Regions from separate parts of the Homo sapiens genome. Here region 2 is linked to region 1. The links are contacts of gene promoters, found by promoter capture Hi-C in human tissues and cell types (Jung and others, 2019). All regions are on one chromosome and are shown on one strand. Each heading gives the region's core, a stretch centred on a gene start or on the middle of the fragment in contact. The rest is flanking DNA. Distances are from core to core; before and after follow the strand shown. Region 1 holds the start of TMEM184B (transmembrane protein 184B). Region 2 overlaps TPTEP2-CSNK1E (TPTEP2-CSNK1E readthrough).

The links. Contacts are between HindIII fragments. The study calls those that stand out against the background at their distance.
Region 2: a fragment that was not itself captured here is called in contact with the fragment with the promoter of TMEM184B in region 1 in 2 of the 25 tissues and cell types used here (dorsolateral prefrontal cortex and stomach).

Annotation. Positions count from the first base shown.
Region 1 is chr22:38,271,639-38,274,415 of GRCh38, forward strand. It overlaps TMEM184B (transmembrane protein 184B), which reads right to left and starts at 1,372. Exons shown (of 9, transcript NM_012264.5): 1 at 1,246-1,372. RefSeq lists an enhancer at 123-832 and a silencer at 895-1,524. The HindIII fragment of the contact is 18,337 bases long and covers 1-2,777 here.
Region 2 is chr22:38,389,804-38,392,580 of GRCh38, forward strand. The region is part of intron 1 of TPTEP2-CSNK1E (TPTEP2-CSNK1E readthrough); the gene reads right to left. It also overlaps the pseudogene TPTEP2. Among named protein-coding and RNA genes, the nearest start is that of TPTEP2-CSNK1E, 7.7 kb to the right of the region's middle. The HindIII fragment of the contact is 3,040 bases long and covers 1-2,777 here.

The DNA.
Region 1 (2,777 bases), core at 122-2,621:
TTCACATCATCGTGATCACCTGTTTCCAAATCTGATTCCCCCATGCTTGAGAGCTCCTTGATGGCTTGGGCATCAAATGTTTCTGTCCAGGTGGGCACACATACCTGGCTGCTGGGGCTCTCCCACCCCAGCGTCCCAGGTCCCAACTCTGATACGCACAGCACCCTAGGCAAGGTTCAGAGGTGCAGAGCCTAGGGGTTCTACCAAGGAAGCTAAATAGGTAGATGGAAAGGGACACTGTAGGCATAACCTGTCAACGAAGTCACACCTCTGAGACCTGCGCTGCCTCTGCAGGTGCAGGTGAGCTTGTTTGCCTGGCTGACTCTGCAGCGCAGGGCCTCCAGGGCACAGATTGCTGCTTCTTTCCTTACAAAAGCACCAGCAGTCAGATAAATAATACATGGCCTTCACCTCACCACAGGTATCAGGCATGCAAATACCTGCTTTGCCCCAAAATGCCCTGGAAAGGAGGGAGGAGTAAAACGTCTGGCCTTATACAACACCTCCAGAGGGGATATGTATTGGGAATCCATGCCCAACCCCCAGCATAACTGCCTTGCCTTGGCCTGGAGCCACCCAGCACTGGAGGTAAGTGGATCCAAGCGAGGTACCAAGGGTGTGCCCAGGAGGAAATGTACAATTCACGGGAAGGATACAGACACCCAAAACCAGTCTCCACGGTCCCTTTGGGGGCAAACATCTTTCGAGCCCCAGGTCCCAGTCGATCCCCTTCCAAACCTGCGGACCTGTGTGGCGGGCGTGTACACCCTCCACTCACGACGCAGCCCCGAAAGCCCCCCGCCGACCACCCTCCCAGGTCACTGCCACCCGCACAGGGCACGGACGCCTCCCCCACTCACTCGGCCGTGCCAGTCGCCAGCACACCCACCCGGGAGCACACAATCCCTCTTGCAAAGCGCCTTGGTCCATCCGCCTCCCTCTCCCGGGGCCGCCCCCCGGACAGGTCCGATTACACTCCAGGAGCTGCCCCCGCCACGTTGGCGTGGAAAGGGAGCGGGCACACCCACGGGCGACCTCGCGGGGCGGAGAGGAGGCACGGGTGGGGAGACGGATGCCCCCTCCCTCCGCGGCCGCACCGGCCTCCGTAGTGCCCTCCCCGCCCGGGAGCCGGCGGCCGAAGCCGGGCGTCCCTCGCGCGGGCCTCTCCGAAACAAGCAGCCCCCCGCGCTCGGGAGTCGCAGCTCCCCCTTGGGGCTCCCGGGCGAGGCCGGCCAGGCGGGATACCTCAGGAGCCCATGGCGGTGGCGGCGTCTGCGGACGATGCGCGGCAGCCGGACTCTGCGGGCGGGGCGGGCGGCGCCGCAGCCCCGGAGTCTCCGCCGCCGCCGGCGCGTCCCGGGCCCAGTGGAGTGCAGCCGCGGCGCGCATGCGCTCTGGGCTCGCCGCCGGGGAGGGCGGGGCGGCGGACGCGGCTGAGATCACTGCCTGGGCCTTAAAGGGGCCGCGCCCCGAACCCCAGCCCGCCGCCCCGAACCCCAGCCCGCCGCCCCGCGGGTTGGGGCGCGACCCGGGTTCTCTTGCCACTCACAAAACCAGCTACGACCGGCCCCCAACCGCGAGAGCTTTCTGGGCTGCGATCTCTGCCCCTGACCCTCGCTGGTGCTTCACTTCTTTTAACCCTAATTTCCTCCATTTGAGCCTGTTTTGAAGATGAAACGAAATACAATGGCTATTTGTTGAGTGAAGGATGCGTGTGGAATTGTGGAATGAACGTGGACCGAGTGTTGTGTGCAATTAGGCCAGATGAAATGGCAAAGCACTGAAAGAGGCCTTTTTTTCCCACTCCGCTTAGCAGCGATTCTTTCTTGCCCCGTCTGGCTCTAGGCTGCCGAACTAGCAAAAGTCTTCAGATAGGGTTCAAGCCGCCTAGTCCATTTCTGTTTGCCGGTCCAGACATCACCTAGGTTAACTGAACAAGATAAAATGCAATTAAGTTCTGGCATTGATGTGCTCAAGATCCCCAAATGTATTTATGTCTCCAGACTCCTCGCCTGAACTGTCTACCCAACACCTCTTCCTTGGAGCTCCAGCAGGCATCTCAAAGTCAGCGTGTCTGAGCTGAGCCAACCCCACTTCCACACACAAAAACCTGCTCCCTCTCAGCTTTGCCTCCATCAGCTGTTGACAATTCCATCCTTCCAGTCCCCAGGCCAGAACTCGGAGTCAGCTGTGAATGAATGCCCCCCTTCTGCCCGCTACCCAATAAGGCAGGCAGGAGATCCTGTTGGCTCTACCTGCAAAATAGATCTAGACTCAGATGTCTGCCACTCCTCCTCCAGTGCTACCACCCTGGTCCAGTATTTGCACAGGATTATTGCAGAGTTCTGCTAACCCCTCTCCCTTGTTCCAGCCTTGCCCTCTGATCCATTCTATCAATTCAGGGGTGAGGGAGATCCTTTTTTTTTTTTCTCTTTTTTCTTTTTGAGACAAAGTCTCGCTCTTTGTCTCAAAGTTGCCCAGGCTGGAGTGCAGTGGCGCGATCTCGGCTCACTGCAAGCTCCGCCTCCCGGGTTCACGCCATTCTCCTGCCTCAGCCTCCCGAGTAGCTGGGACTACAGGCGCCCGCCACCATGCCCAGCTAATTTTTTGTATTTTTAGTAGAGACGGGGTTTCACCGCGTTAGCCAGGATGGTCTTGATCTCCTGACCTTGTGATCCGCCTGCCTCGGCCTCCCAAAGTGCTGGGATTACAGGCGTGAGCCACCACGCCCAGCCAAGATTCTTTTAAAATCTGCCGGGCACGGTGGCTCACGCCTG
Region 2 (2,777 bases), core at 202-2,701, 120 kb after region 1:
GTAATCCCAGCTACTTGGGAATCACTTGAACCCAGGAGGTGGAGGTTGCAGTGAGCCAAGATCGCGCCACTGCATTCCAGCCTGGGCAACAGAGCGAGACTTTGACTCCCCCCTCTTGCCCAAAAAAAAAGAAATATGATGGAGTGTTATTTCCCACTCAGGGAAACAGCATAACTTAGTTACTGAAAATATTTATTAACAGACAGATGTTTTGGTTCCAATTCTCAATTATCTGGGTTAAAGAAGTTACCATCAGTCTCCACACAAGACCTTGTAGGATTATTTCTCTGCAGTGAAGGACAATGAAGGAGGTTCAGTGGGAAACGATCTTAGGACAGAGGAAGTTTCCACTTTGCCTGGGAGGGTGAACAGCCTGGGAGACCTGGAGATGAGGGCAGGCATTCTAGGCCAAGGGGTCTTCTTGTGTGGTCAGATGGGGAAGGAAACCCTCCTGGCAAAACAGCAGCAATTCTTTCTCCAGGAAAGCTTCTGAGACTGACTCTAATAGTCAATTGTGATCAACTGTCCTAGGCTCCCAGGGCCACAGCAATCCTTAGGCACCCCAAATGTGCCATCCCTGACTACCCAGCACACCCTAACCCCAAAGCATTGTGACAGCTCAAGGATGACTTCCTCTGAAAACCTCTGTCCAGATCTAAAACCATCCTGTTTGTTTGCTTGTAACTGTCTTTTTCTAAAAGTAACACCTCAGGATGGAGACTCTGTTGCCTTGTCCACTGCTGCCCCCAATGCCTGGAACAAGGTGCCTGACACAGGAGTAGGCACGCGACACATAGCTGGTGAATAAACGTCACGGAATTAGCACACGTGTAGAATCAGTACGCACATGTTTGGCCACAGTCACTAAACGTAACTGATCAGAAATTAAAATTAAGTTGCATGTTCATCAAAACTTCTACATGGCTATCAGTGACTGCCATCTAATTGCCATTCTGCAACTTCAAGAGTACAATTTCAAGAGCGTAATAAAAAAATCATATTTAATCACACCATAAAGTTCATCAGCACAAGCAAAACAAAAACTGCACTATTTGGATTTATACTCACTCTCCTTACGACCCTCCAAAACAAAAATGCTGGGCATCCTAGGGCTATCTCTGACAGCAAATGCCTTCAGCTCTTGACTTAGAAACTGCTAACATACTAGACAAAACACTTTCCTTAAACTCTAAGACAATGAATAATACTTTAAACCAGGTTTACATCGCTTAAAACCAATTCGCTCATCAGTAATCGTTAAAGTGGTTGTAACAATAAAGATGTTAATAACAGAATACAGCAAAATAGAAATTCTAATCTACTAACAGCAAATCACCATTCCAATTGAATGGTGTGTGTGCACAAACACAAGCCTTCCCAGAAGCCTCCAGCTCTCCACACTCCTGCACACAGAAGGCAGCAGTAAACCGATGGCACTGCTGTTAAAGTAAATTGTCTTTCTCAACAAAGAACTGGAGGGGAAAAGGAGGATATTATAATCCAAGACTATAATCTAAATGCTTCTAGCTTGCAAGAAAGTGAGCATTACGAACACGCTAAGCTTACTGACAAGTACTTCACAAAAATGGTTTCCAATGTTTAAAAACATTTTAAAATCTTTACTCAGGTAAACGACAGAACTTAACTCATATACCCCCTAACACCTAAGGCAAGTGGGCTATTGAGTATAGCCATATTTTGAAAGAAACTTCTATTGGGATTATTTCAGTAGATACTTTTAAAATTTACCAGAGCATAATCTTTGAAACCCAGTGGGAACCACACTGCTACAAAAGGCTGGAATAGAAGTGTGATGTTCTTTAGGTCACTAATTACACACTGATTTGTGACTAAAGCTACCATGAATTCTACCACTACCTATAGATCTTGAAATTAGCAAATAGGACACATTATACACTGCTTAATAAAAAGCACAGTAATCTGTGCTTAAGTACAACTAACTAGGTACAACAGCCACTTTGCTGACAATTACTGTAACTTGGGAATATTTTTCTTTACATCCTGATGTACTCAAACTGTTAACTTTTAGAAACAGCACAGCCTCTTTGTTTCTTCTGCTTAATAGGTTATCTTACACTGTTGATATGGAATATGTATCTACCATAATACAAAGCAATAAGGTATTCAAGTCCTCAAAAACACAGAAAAATTATATTTATACACAATTTGTCATACTGCTAACAAAGCTACTTTTTCCCAAGTTACTGAGGTGTCCAAATAAGGAGTTATTAAAAAATTCAACTTAAATTGCTATTCTCTGGCCAATGCATTTGTACCCTGAAAACTACAAAATTATCTCCAAGACCTGGCTAGAAGTTTACATTTTCTCTGAAAGTTTTTCCTCTGTCTTTTACACACAGTATTTTTTCTTAATCTGACAAGTGGAGAAAACTCTGCATAGCCATCTACTAACAATCAAAAAGCTACAGGTTTTTTTATTTTTTATTTTTAATGCTCTAAATTCTTCAACACTGTTTCAAGGAAATTACTAGGGGTCACACCCACGAGGCTAAATGGTCAACCCAACTTTCCTAATTTAGCTGTGGAAAGATGCTTCCAAGTTAAGCGAAAGAAAAAGATTGGAATATTCAAAGTTTATATTTAAGGTTACAACCTAAACTCTTCAACTTGGGAAGCTTGTAAAGGAAATAATTTCATTTTGCTGAAATTGTTCATAAATTACCAATTTTAAATAGGATTAGAGACCAAAGTACTATAAAAATATAATCATATAGCATATTTGAGTGTCATTAACT